Linked DNA regions of Homo sapiens: regions 2 and 3 are each linked to region 1. The links are contacts of gene promoters, found by promoter capture Hi-C in human tissues and cell types (Jung and others, 2019). All regions are on one chromosome and are shown on one strand. Each heading gives the region's core, a stretch centred on a gene start or on the middle of the fragment in contact. The rest is flanking DNA. Distances are from core to core; before and after follow the strand shown. Region 1 holds the start of SALL3 (spalt like transcription factor 3). Region 2 has its middle 120 kb from the start of LINC01896. Region 3 overlaps LOC105372224 (a long non-coding RNA gene).

Region 1 (4,200 bases), core at 906-3,405:
CAGACGCCGTGGGAACCTGTGTCTGCTTCTTCTCTCCAAAGTGTATCGGTTAAAAAAAAATAAAAGTAGTAGTAGTAGTAGTGGTAAGGAAAAAAATAAAAATAAAAAGGAGACACAATTAACCAGGTCATAAAAGCTAGGGCACCTTCGACCAGGGCTCTGGCCCTCCAGCGATCGTTTTGCGTTGTTTCTCTTCTCAAAAGTAGTCTCAGACCCCTGCCTTTCCGCTGCAGCTCTGCGACTTCCCCAAACTCCTTAATCCTGTAAATTCTGCAAGAAACTCCCATCCTGCAAGCTGCTTTTCCCCCTCCCCCCTGCGTTCCTTTTTTCTCTCCCCACCCGCGCCGCCTCTCTATGCCCCTCTCTTCTCAGAAAAATTCCTGCCCCCCGCGCGCCCCAAAGCCCGGGCTGCAAACTTTTCCCCGCCGGGCGCCTCTGCGCCAGATGCCGGAGCGTCTCCACAAAGCCTGAGCATCTGCACAAGTTCGCAGCCTAACTGCGGGATAAAGACGTTTCCCCCGTAGCTTAACTAGAAAAGCGCCATCGATGGGTGTGTTAAACGGGATAACTAGAGATTTCAAACACCTTTTATTTGCCTGTCTTGAAAAAAAAATCTAAATGAATACGCCCGCTACCAAAAGGCAAAATAAAACCAACCTTAAGGGTTTTTGTTGTTTTTTTTTTTTTTCAAAAGTGGCGATAGGGACTGTTTGGACCTGACTCCAACCTGCGCCCTCCCTTCCTCTATGACCCTCCTGCGCTTTTCCTGGAACCCAAAGCTCTGACTTCGTCAAACTTACACAATTAAAGGCAGGCGGAAGAACGCGGGCTGGGAAGCAAGCGGGAAGATTCTAGAATGGAAGGGAGCCCGCCGAGCGCCGCGAGCCGCGCCAGGCCGGGTCCGATGGAGCAGGCGGGGATTCCTCCCCCAGGCGGACCCCCGCCACCAGCCCTGCCGGGAGCTCGCGGCCTGCGGAGCGCCCGGGCTGGCCGCTCACCGCCCGCTTCCCCCAGCGAACGACTCGGGGAAGCTCCAGGAGGCCATCTGTGCTGACGGTTCACACCAGACAGGACCACTTGCAAGGACAAAAATAAGAAATTTAGGAAACGAAAAAAGACGTACTGGGGCGAGGGGCGCGGGCGCGGCGACGACGGGGCCGGGGGCACATCCTGGCGGCCGCTCGGGGAGAGAGGACACGCGCGGGAAGGAGCGCGGCGGGTGCACGGCCGCGGGTGGGAGTACGCGCCTGTGCGCGCGGGGCGAGGGCGAGGGCGCGTGCGTGTGACCGCGGGGAGGGGGCGGGCGCGTGTGCGGGGAGCGCGCCGCGCCAGGGGCCGAGTGTGTGGGGCCGATCCAGAAGTGCGCAGCCCCCTCACCTGGCCCCCGTGTCATCCCCGAAATCCCGGGAAAGGGTGGGCCGCGCGCGGGAGTTTGGTGGAGTTGGAACTTTCGGTCGCGCTCGCTGCCCACTCCGCTGGCGCCCGGTGGCCCGTGGTGAAGGGGGACTAGGGTGGGGAACACCGGGGCCCTGCGGTCCCCTCCCTTTCCTGTATTTAAGAAGCCGCCGGCGGCGCAGAGGCCCAGGCGGGCTGGCGCGGGGGCGAGGCGGCCCGGTGGCAGCAGCGGGCGGGGCGGGCGCTCCGGAGTCGGTGGGGCCCGCGGGTTGGGGGGCGGGGAGAGGGGGGAGTGGAAGGGAGGGGGAACGCAGGGGAGGGAGAGGAGGGGAGGAGCCGCGCGGCCCGCGCCGCTTCCGAACCGGAAAGTTGGTCTTGCCGAAGTCCTGCCACCCCGGCGTGCGCACTCCGCTCCGCTCCGGCCGCGAGCCTCCGAGCCCGGCCGGCCGCCGGGGGAAGCCCGCGGAGGGGACGCGGGGCCGGGCGAGAAGGTCCGGAGAGCGGGGGGCACCTGAGCCCGGGCGGGCCCGCCGCGCTGAGCGGCGCTGAGAGCCGCGGCGGAGCAGCGAAGGCGGCCGGCCGACCCCGCGCGCCCGGAACAGGAGGCGCGGCGCCCGAGCGGCCCGGGCGAGACAAAGGCGCCGGGTCGGAGCCCTGCCCGCGGCCGCTCGCTCCGGGAGGGGCCGCCCGGCGGCGGCGGCGGGGGGGGCGCGGGCGGCGGCGCAGACACTCTATAAAGGGGCGAGCCCGGCGCGCCGGCGGAGACGGCGCCGCGCGGACGCCGCCAAAGTTTGCTGCCTGCGCCCTGCGGAGGGACGGCCACCGCGGCCCGCGCCGCACCCGGGCCCCGCCACAGCCGCACCCGGGGCGGCCGAGGAGCGCGGCGCCGGAGCCCGCGATGTGAGGCGGCGCCGGGCAGCGCGCGCCCCGGTCCCGAGGCGCCGCGGCCCCCTCCTCGTCGGCGCGGCCGCTAATTGCGAGCGCGGCCTCATTTGCATAGGCCGCCGGAGTCCGCTGGAGCCCGGCCAATCGGCGCGGCCCTCCGCTAATGGCCATGCATTATTCACCAGCCTAATTGCTCAGCCCCATGCGCGGCCCGCGCAGCCGCCGCCGCCCCGCGCCCCGCGCCGCGCGCCCGCCAGGCCGCCCCGCGCCGTCCCCGCCGGCCGCCCCGCTGATGCCGCTGCCCCGCGCGGGGCCCGAGCGCCGCTAGCAGCATGTCTCGGCGCAAGCAGGCCAAGCCCCAGCACCTCAAGTCGGACGAGGAGCTGCTGCCGCCTGACGGGGCTCCCGAGCACGGTGAGGGCCGGGGCTGCGGGGTGGCCGGGGGGTCTGGGGCTGCCCGTCCGGGCTGGGGAAGCGCGTGCGGCGGGAGCGGATGCGCGCGTCCGGGAGCGGGAGAAAGTTCCCTGCTTCCTGCGGGCAAGCGTCCGCCCCGCGCCAGGCCGGCCGCGGGGCCCCGGGTACTTCGCCGGAGCGCGCGCGGCCGCCGAGAGAGTTGTGGGCGAAGTAAACTTGGCTCCTCTCCTCGGAGTCGGGGAGCTGCCCGCGAAGGGCGCCGAGGCCGCGGCCGGCTCGAGGACGGCTCGGAGGCCGGGGCGGGAGGGAGTCCACGGTGCCTCCGCCGCCGCGCCGCCCCCCAGGGTCTCTGCGCCAGGACGCTGAGGCCGGCGGCGGCGGGGAAGGCGACCGCAGCCCACCTACCGCTGGACGCGGGTTGGGGACCCCGCCGCCCGGCCAGCTTTGTTCGGGGGCCCGCGGCCCCTCCCGGGCCCCCGCACCGCCTCGGGTGACCCGCGGTGTCCCAGCGCGTTGACGCAGCCTGTGATCCCTCGCGAGGCGAGGAGAAGGTCGGGGGCTTGGCTCTGCCTAATGGCCGCCCGGGGAATTAAGCTGGGGGTGAGCGCAGCGGCGGCGGCCTGGGCCTGGCCCCTGCTCGCGGCGTGTTTCCGGGGCGTTCGTTGCAGCGTCTGCGCGGGCCTTTTCTCTCCCGTCTTTTTGGATCCGCCGAGGCCGGGCGCTGGAGACCTCGGCTTTGCAGTCATTTCGCTGGTAGGAGCGTCCTCTTCGAAACATCCAAGAGCAAAGGGCAGGCGCCGCGAAAGTTAAGAGACTGGCAAAGGGCTGGACTTCCCAGAGTGGCGCCTTAGCCCCGCAAAGTTTGGGGCGCCCCCACCCCCTTCGTCGAGTCAAAACCTCGGCCGGCGGCGCCCGGGCTTCGGCGCGCCCCGCGGGGCCCCCAGGGCGCCAGGAAAGAGGGCCGAGGAGGGGCGACCCCACGACCCCGAGCCCGCAGCACAGCTCGCAGTAAAATAATTTGCTCCTTAAAAAAACAGGCAGGCCAACTTTTATGATTGACCTGTTATAAGTTGTTGGAGGCAGATGGTGATCTTTTTACTCTGAGAATGAGACTGTCTGCGAAAAGGAAACGGGGCGGAAGAGTTTCCCACACAGTGGAGTAAAGTTTGACAAAGCGGGTAGACACCCATGTCGGATGAGAACGAGAGAGCATGCTTATGACGCGGCTGGAGAATTAATGAATTAAATAAAATTAGTGAGCTCGCTGGGGTCTTTTTGTTGCGGTGGAGGTAAGGGAGTCTTATCTGTGTAGCCAAGTCAGCCAAGATGAGAACAGGCGATATGCTAAAAAGAAACGCTTGCATATGGTGGGTAGATTAAGGACAAAGAATCTTTTTGTCATGGAAATGGATTTTTTTTTGTTTTGTTTACTTCATCACATAGAATTTCTCACACTTGGTTTGTTTTGTATCGCCCTCAATGACTACATGATCAAATGAATGGATT
Region 2 (4,200 bases), core at 541-3,040, 120 kb before region 1:
GAGGAAGTGCTCACTGCTCACTGGAGGAAGTGCTCACTAGTTATTGGGCTTACTCCCCATCGTCACCCACTGGAGGAAGTGCTCACTAGTTATTGGGCTTACTCCCCATCGTCACCCACTGGAGGAAGTGCTCACTAGTTATTGGGCTTACTCCCCATCGTCACCCACTGGAGGAAGTGCTCACTGCTCACTGGAGGAAGTGCTCACTAGTTATTGGGCTTACTCCCCATCGTCACCCACTGGAGGAAGTGCTCACTAGTTATTGGGCTTACTCCCCATCGTCACCCACTGGAGGAAGTGCTAACTGGTTATTGGGCTTACTCCCCACAATCACCCACTGGAGGAAGTCCTGACACTAAGGGTCCCTTCCAGAGAGCATCAGTGTCATTGCAACAGGGGGACGAAAGCCCGTGAAATCCTGTTTTTGGTCAAGTCCTCATGATTTTATCTTTTAACCCAAAGCACAGTGTTTATTTCTGCTGGGGTTGTTCCCACAAGGAGCTGAAGAACTGAAGCTGAAACTGCCTTTCAGGCTTCCCTGACCACCTTCCTACCCTACCCCAGAGGAAGTTTTCGGGGACCCTCAAGGAGCCACCTGCAGCCCTTCATCATTCTTTCCACTAAGCCTCACGGGCAAGGTCACCCTTCCTGCCTCCCTCCCATGGGCTGACCTGGTGATCCTCCATGGAGAATGCGTAGGAGCCGGATATTGGCACTGCCAGGTGGAAAAGTCCCCTGTCAGGGTGAAAAGTCAGACGGCGTCTGCCTCTCGCTCTTGGAGTGCTCCTGGCCTAACGCAGCAGTTTCGCAGATAAACGTTACAGAAGGTAGAGCGCTCTACAGATATGAAGGAGTGGCCCGTGGTTTCACGTAGAACAAATTACTTCCGGCAGAAAGATCAGGAAAGTTTCGAAATCGCGGAGTTCTCAAGGGATGGGCAGAACGGGCGGGTGAGCAGGGCCAAGCGCCTCCTGGACAGTGACCATCCCGGAGCCTGGGGACGCGCTGGGGGGCAGGAGCTGTCCCACTCGTTCAGGCGAGGGTCTGGGAAGGGACCCCAAGCGGGAGGCCGACGCTGCCTGGGTCCTCCCTTGGGGCGGCCGCCTCCCCATTCACCCCGAGCATCCCGAAACCTGGAAAGGAGCAAAGCTGAAGCGATGGCCACGTGCATGACGGCAGGCAGCCTGCAGATTCGTTGTTAAACTACACTCACGCCGGGTCTAACAGGCGCGCACCTGCCGGCACGCCGCCCGCTGCTGTGACCTGGGCAGCGTCGGGTCTCAGGCCCCCGCCTCTCGCGCTGTGACAGTGAGAAGCCGAGAAAGTCATGTCACGTCCGTCTGAGGAGGCAGCTCCTCAGTGTGGCAGAAAGAAATGCCCACTCTCCGAGCACCAGCCAGGACGTGTGCTTAAGCCAACCTGTTCATTCTTCCACCTGATCCCTTATGTAATGTAACATGCATGTTTCATCCACAAAAATGAGCAGCGAAATCCACCGACCCAGCAACATGTTCCGAGACACGCAGGAGCCTTTTCCACGGAGCCAGCTCCCGGCCTTCCCCTCCAACATCCACCCCGCGCTCGCGTAGCCCGGGCTCCTGCCATTGCGCTGCCAGCTGGGCGGCACCTTTCAGGCGGGGAAAAGCGAATCTTCTGCCGGACTGATCAAGGCACAGCGCTTCTGTCCTGCCCTTTATTTTTGCCCAAATGCATCTTGGTATCACCGTCTGTAATTGTTCCTTCATCTCCCCCGTGGACATGAAGTCGCTACAGCTTTGCAGAAGCAGCATTAGCCTGAGAAGCAGCAAAGAAAAGCAGAGAGGCTTAGCGTCCCTCAGCCACAGATTAATGCCTCTTCAAAGACGCCATCCAGATGCGGCCGGCTCCGCGCCGGCTTCCCCGGCAACAGCTGGGGAGGCGCATGGTGCCCCGCCTTCTGTTCCCCACGTTATGAGCAGGAATAAAAGCCGCCTCCTTAATGGCCTGGGTTTGTGTTGGAGGCATAATTTTCTGTTGACATTACAAAAGGGCAAGCTTCATGTGTTTTCATCACTGACAGAGAGACGAAGGTGAGTTGCTCTCCTATCCACACCTCCTCCTCCTCTCCAGAGCCCACTGCACTCAAGAGCGGGACCCAGGCTCCTCGGGGCGTGTCCTCGGCGGTCCCTCGGCCTCACACAACAGTCAAAAGCAGCTGCTAACTTTCGACCTTACGTGAGGAGTGGCGAAAGCATCCCATTTGCTACCAGGGCAGATTATTTTTGGAGTTAAAATAAAAGAAACACCATTCTCAACTCACCGTTGCCCGTGGATTCCAGTGGGTAGGAATTAAAGCCTCTAAAAAGAGGCTGTGTGATTTCCCGGGTGAAGTGTCAGATTGTAAAGGGATTCAGAACTACTCATTCCAGTTCAGCAGATTAGTAAGAACCAGAATGCATGGCCTCGAACAACCTCCCGGTGCCAGGAGAGTCTCTTTGAAGAACTCTGAGTAACAAAGGCCACCCCACGTTGAACCCCAGTTATGAGCTACAGTCTTATTGCCAAATTAAGTTGAGAATCTGTGATCGTTTGGCTTCAGAAAGAGAAAGCAAAAAACTTTTTTCTCTGTGACCCAGGTGTGATCCTTGGGGAGTGAGTCCTTGGCTGCACTCATAAGGGAACCCTCGGAGGTACCTGTCCAGAGGCAGAAAGCTTCTCCCTGGACTGTCTGGAGTCTCTGGACTGTCTGGAGCGTGCCATGACTGTCTGGAGTGTGCCATGACTGTCTGGAGTGTGCCGTGACTGTCTGGAGTGTGCCATGACTGTCTGGAGGGTGCCGTGACTGTCTGGAGGGTGCCGTGCCCTCCTGAATGGGCACCTTGTTTTTATTTCACAGTTTTCCAGTGAATGACCAGACACAACCGTTACAGGGTCAGCACTTTCATGGAAGGTTACAGAAGCGGACATGTTCCACGCAAAATATTGGACAATATAAGAAACGTATCACTTGGCATTTGCAAAACGATTTCCTAGGACAGTTTGCCTTCCAGGTCATGTAAAGCTTGTGTTCAGAGGTTAGACATAGACATGCCATTGGTACCAGCAGTGGGAGGGAGGGAGGGAGGGAGGGTCAATCCAGTCACTTCCCAAAGGAACCTGGTCGGGGGATGAGTTTGGGCATCAACTTCATGAGGCAAAGAAGCCAGAGAGAGCTCCATGGCAAGGTCTGACAACAAGTCAACTCGTAAACCAGGCTCCAAGCCATTCTCCAAGGCACATCTGGGAAGTGTCACCTTCTCATCTTTACAAAAACCTTGGGAGGCCCCAGATTTCCCCATTACCAAAGACTGCATTTCCTGATGCAAGGAAATCTCGCCACTGATGGCGAGATTTGCCTGGACTCCTCACAAACACCTGCTGGGTGGCGCGGCTGCATTCCTCCTGCCTGTGACTCGGGCTGGCTGCAGGTGGACACGGAGACCACACCCACACCCATGGGAAGGCCCGTCCTGCAGATGAGGGTGGGGAAATAGCTGTGGACAAGGACTGGCTGGTTCTGTTCTTTGAAAAAAATTTAATTTCGTGCATAGCATCTGTTCCATAGAATGAGACCACTTCTCTTGTGAATTTTTTATAATGGTAAATATACGGGATTGAGTTTTAATCACAAACAGGATTATGATGCAGATGTAGTAGAAACTGGGGAGGGGCAAGGTCTTGCGTGAGGCTGTCTCATAACCACAGGGTTTCTGTGGACTTTCAGTGGTGTTTGCTGGGGCATTGGCCCTTATTAACCTTGGCAGTCAGAGCTCATATTCCAAACATTCACTAAAATATTCCACGTGGGCACAAGCGATTTCCAATCAACACTAAGACATGCCCTTGAAGAAGAGGGTTTGAGTGCGGTTCACCGGGCCAGGACAAGTGGACCTTCTTCAGTTAGGAGACACCTGCTGTGCCAGTGAGTGTCCTCAATTCATGGCTCAGACACAGCTCCAGCAGCCTGTCCAGCGGGGAAGAGAGCTGTGAGTGAAAAGAGCCACAGTGCACGGGTAGAAGCGACGTACCAGAGGGGTGGCTTCCTGGAGCCGATCTAGTTCCAAGACAGATGCCAATGGCGGAATCAGAGCTCCATAAGTCAACGTACCTTTGAGAATCTGTCAGGGGCTCTTGGAGATCGTTTGTGAGTATTTTAAAGGATGAGGGAAATACCTGCTATGC
Region 3 (4,200 bases), core at 1,204-3,703, 71 kb before region 1:
AGTGGAAGTCACTTTTCTTAAAATTCAGTGACAATCTACAGCCATTGTGGGAAAGAGGCGTTCTGCAGCCCTGCAGCAGGCCTGTGTTCCAGGAGCCCCTACTTAAGAAATGTCTGGCTTCTGCCACCCCACCCTAGGCCTGAGCTTCCCGCTGGCTGCCGGACGCCGTCCTGCCAGCATTCTGCCTGACCTCAGCGGGGTCACCCCCGAACCTCACCCCATCGATGGCTCAGGCTGCCCCTCCAGGCCGCCGCCCGGCCTCATCACCCTCCCGCTCCCCACCAGGGTCCCACCCTCTCACTCCACTTTCCTCTTCAGTAGAGCACCGGGACTCCCTGTGCACCACCAGCCAAGCTAGACCCGGACATTTCACCCGGAGGATCAGGCAGGGTAACACCCCACTCATTTCATCCACCTGCTTAGAACTCGCCATGTCTCTTCATGGTCTTAGGCTGCAGAAGCCCTTTCCGAGCACGACGCAAGGGCCAGAAACAGAGCACACGAAACTTACAATTTTCTGCATCACAGCGAAAATCAAACAAACAAAAACAAAAAACAAAGTTAAAAGATAATTCTTTGGAGAAAATATTTATACGAATTACCAAAGAAAGGCTATTGTCTTTGTATATTTCATACATTAATATCCTTAGATTAGATTGTAAAGCCATAAGAGAAATATGAACAGAAAACCAGGCCACTGAATTTGTTTGGGGACATATTAAAAATTTGCATGTACTGAAACAAAAAGGTCTTTAGTTGAAAAAAAAAAAATTAAGAAACAAAATAGCATCACATGACAGGAACTTTTTTTGGTCTTTGAAAGTAGGAGTGTCATATGCAAAAGGGAAGAAAAGCAAACAAAATACGTCAAGTTATGTTAAATACGTCATGTTAGCAGTTGGCCGGGCAAGGGGGCTCACACCTGTAATCCCAGCACTTTGGGAGGCTGACACAGGAGGATTGTTTGAGTTCAGGTGTTTGAGATGAGCCGGGGCAACATAGTGACACCATGTCTCTACAGTTTTTTTTTTTTTTTTTGAATTAGCTGAGTGTGGTGGTACGTGCCTGTGGTCCCAGCTACAGGGGAGGCTGAGGCAGGAGGATGGCTTGAGCCCAGGAGTTCGAGCTTACAATGAGCTATGATTGTGTCACTGCACTCTAGCCTGGGTGACAGAGCAAGACCCTGTCTAAAAAGGAAAAAAAAAAAGTTGGGTAACAGTTACCTCCAATTGTAGAATTTTTTTTTATTATCGTCATGTTTTTTCTTTATGCATATCTGTGTGTTTTTAAAGTTTTGCAAGTAAAAAATTCTAAAATCTGTTGGCTCACATTCAAGACCCTCCAAGCCCCAGAAGAAGCTCTGTCTCTCCAGGTGCCACCTGCACTTCTCCCGCAGGAATCCCTTGCTGAAAGCTCCACACTGAACAGAGCTTTTCTCTCGGAAACTCCTGCCCACCTGTTCCACATACTGTAGACACATCCAAGAATTCTAAAAGAATAGAAGGAGGAATAGTGAGGAAGAGTTGGGTCAAAGTACCTTCCAGAAGATATCAGAAAGAGGTGAAAAAAAAAAAAAAATGCTGGGCGCGGTGGCTCACGCCTGTAATACCAGCACTTTGGGAAGCCAAGGCAGGTGGATCACTCGAGGTCAGGAGTTCGAGACCAGGCTGGTCAACATGGTGAAACCCCGTCTCTACTAAAAATACAAAAAATTAGCCAGGTGTGGTGGCACGCACCTGTAATCTCAGCTCCCCGTCTCTACTAAAAATACAAAAAATTAGCCGGGTGTGGTGGCATGCACCTGTAATCTCAGCTACTGGGGAGGCTGAGGCAGGAGAATTGCTTGAACCTGGGAGTCAGAGGTTGCAGTGAGCCAAGATCATGCCACTGCATTCCAGCCTGGGAGACAAAATGAGACCCTGTCTCAAAAAAAAAAGCGGGGGGAGGCTGGGTGCGGTGGCTCACGCCTGTAATCCCAGCACTTTGGGAGGCTGAGACGGGGGATCACCTGAGGTCAGGAGTTCAAGACCAGCCTGGCCAGCATGGCGAAGCCCCATCTCTACCAAAACTACAAAAATTAGCTGGGCATGGCGGTGCACACACCTGTATTCCCAGCTACTCAGGAGGCTGAGGCAGAAGAATCTCTTGAACCCAGAGGTGGAGGTTGCAGTGAGCTGAGATATACCACTGCACTCCAGCCTGGGTGACAGAGCGAGGCTGTCTCAAATAGAAAAGTGTGAAGAATGAGGGAATTTGACAGGCATGGTGGTGCACACCTGTGGTCCCAGCTACTCAGCAGGCTGAGGCGGGAGGCTCACTTGAGCCTGCCTGGTTGAGGCTACAGTGAGCCATGTTCATGCCACTGCACTCCAGCCTGGGTGACAGAGTGAGACCCTGTCTCAAAAAAAAAAAAGAATGAAGATAAAAAATATGGATGGGGAAAAAGGAGGCATCACTAAGAATCCAAACAGCAAACAGAAAGAAAAAGGGGTTGCATAAGATCCCGGAATATCCCGGGATGAAAACAGAAGCTTTCAAGTTAAAAGGAGTGTGAGTGCGACCTGGAGAGGGAAGGAGCCGCATGTATAAGCGTATTTTCACTGAAGGGAAGAACACGGGGCCCGCGAAAGCTGGACGGCCGGAGACCCGCGTTTCCACGTTTCCACGTTTTCGTTCCTGTGCTGTCCCCAGCAGACCAGGCACCATTTCACATCACGATCCCGCTGAGATCAAGGAGACCAGATGTCAGAAAATGCTTTAGAAGTATAGGTGAGAGATAAATGCAAAATAAAGTGTTTACTAAATCAGAGTCATTTTGGAAAAAAATGTTTACGGCTGGTATACTCAACCTGCACTTTAACATCTGTCTAAAGTATCTGTATCGAACACGGGGAGAAAATCCTACTTTACCATTACCTTTGAAATTAAAGTTTCCAGAGCCTTATGATGAAATTTATGTCAAATTAATTTCTGGGACTCAATGAAGCTTAAAATGAATTCATAATGAGGTACACTTAAGAGGTGTGCAGAGGGCCTTGGAGGGACTGATCAAAGAGGTCCCCTTCCTGCCATTAACTCTAATTTCGTGATGATGACACATTTTATCCGAGCACAACACATACTCTCAGAGATGATATGCTTTCACAATTACTGTATATGCAGGATGTGTGACCAAATGGAAGTTGACTATTGCTACATTATTATTAGCATTATTATTATTAGTTAATTGAGTATCAGCAATGTGCACAATCTTCTATGAGATATAATGAAAAGATGGCTCCTGTGTTGGAGATTTATGTCTTAATTTAGACATACTTATAATTCCAACATAACACATACAGCCTGAGAAAATGATTTTCTTAAAAGTGCAAGATTTCCTAAAACTGTATGGTTCCTAATGACAGCTCCCTGCTTCCGACTGAATGTCAGCAAAGAGCAGTATTTAAGAGGCTGCACCTTCAGACAAAAGATTTTCTATTCTTCATATTTAAATATTAAAACTCTTAAAAACATATCTTAAATGAATTTAGGAAATTCTTCAGCAAAAAGAAATGTAGAGTGCTGTAAAGATCCTAAAAAAGTGTGCCATTTCTTATTCACTTTTCATGCAGTGGACACCTTGATTTCATGATTACATTTGGGCTGAAAAGCTAAAAATAGAATATATTGTTTGATTCTTCCAAATCACAGATTCTTAACGAGAGAAATAAGATTTATATTCTTAGGTAGTCTGCCTTCCTGAACAACACACATCCAACAAGAAACAGGCGGATAATATTAACGGCACTTGTGATCTAAGCAAAGTCTCATCATTTTTTTTCACCTCCATTTTGAGAAAATGCCAAACAAAGCCAATTTTACACACCTGAGAACAGAGAAGGGAGGAATCATGGGACCTTCACACTCCGAACAACAAGCGGTCCCATCCTGAACGGGGCGAGGCAATGCCCTTGGGCTGTAAGGTGGGGTGCCGACGAGAAATAAGCTCTACAAAGCAAGGTTTTGTTGCCTAGCTACCTTAGATTGGACCAAAAGCACACACTGAACAAGAAACATACAACGTTCTCCCTGTGAGGAATGAGACACTTTCTCCTCCAGCATCAACGCACTGTCACTGGGCAATTGATATGTTATTAGTCGAGTGGACAATGTGATGTTATTTATATCAATGTTAGAAGTATGGATCCAACATTATTCAAT

What was found. The method cuts DNA at HindIII sites, captures the fragments that hold promoters and counts their contacts. A contact is called where the count stands out against the background at its distance.
Region 2: a fragment that was not itself captured here is called in contact with the fragment with the promoter of SALL3 in region 1 in 4 of the 25 tissues and cell types used here (H1 embryonic stem cells, heart left ventricle, pancreas and 1 more).
Region 3: a fragment that was not itself captured here is called in contact with the fragment with the promoter of SALL3 in region 1 in 4 of the 25 tissues and cell types used here (H1 embryonic stem cells, hippocampus, pancreas and 1 more).

Annotation. Positions count from the first base shown.
Region 1 is chr18:78,977,663-78,981,862 of GRCh38, forward strand. SALL3 (spalt like transcription factor 3) reads left to right here and starts at 2,156. Exons shown (of 3, transcript NM_171999.4): 1 at 2,156-2,694. The coding sequence starts at 2,613. LINC01896 (long intergenic non-protein coding RNA 1896) reads right to left here and starts at 2,029. Exons shown (of 5, transcript NR_187297.1): 1 at 1,378-2,029; 2 at 801-1,076; 3 at 146-270; 4 at 1-28. RefSeq lists an enhancer at 3,573-4,200. The HindIII fragment of the contact is 21,440 bases long and covers 1-4,200 here.
Region 2 is chr18:78,855,861-78,860,060 of GRCh38, forward strand. No RefSeq gene overlaps it. Among named protein-coding and RNA genes, the nearest start is that of LINC01896, 120 kb to the right of the region's middle. The HindIII fragment of the contact is 3,713 bases long and covers 1-3,647 here.
Region 3 is chr18:78,906,028-78,910,227 of GRCh38, forward strand. LOC105372224 (a long non-coding RNA gene) reads right to left here. Exons shown (of 4, transcript XR_935678.3): 4 at 2,585-2,723. Among named protein-coding and RNA genes, the nearest start is that of LINC01896, 72 kb to the right of the region's middle. RefSeq lists an enhancer at 3,788-4,200. The HindIII fragment of the contact is 3,023 bases long and covers 943-3,965 here.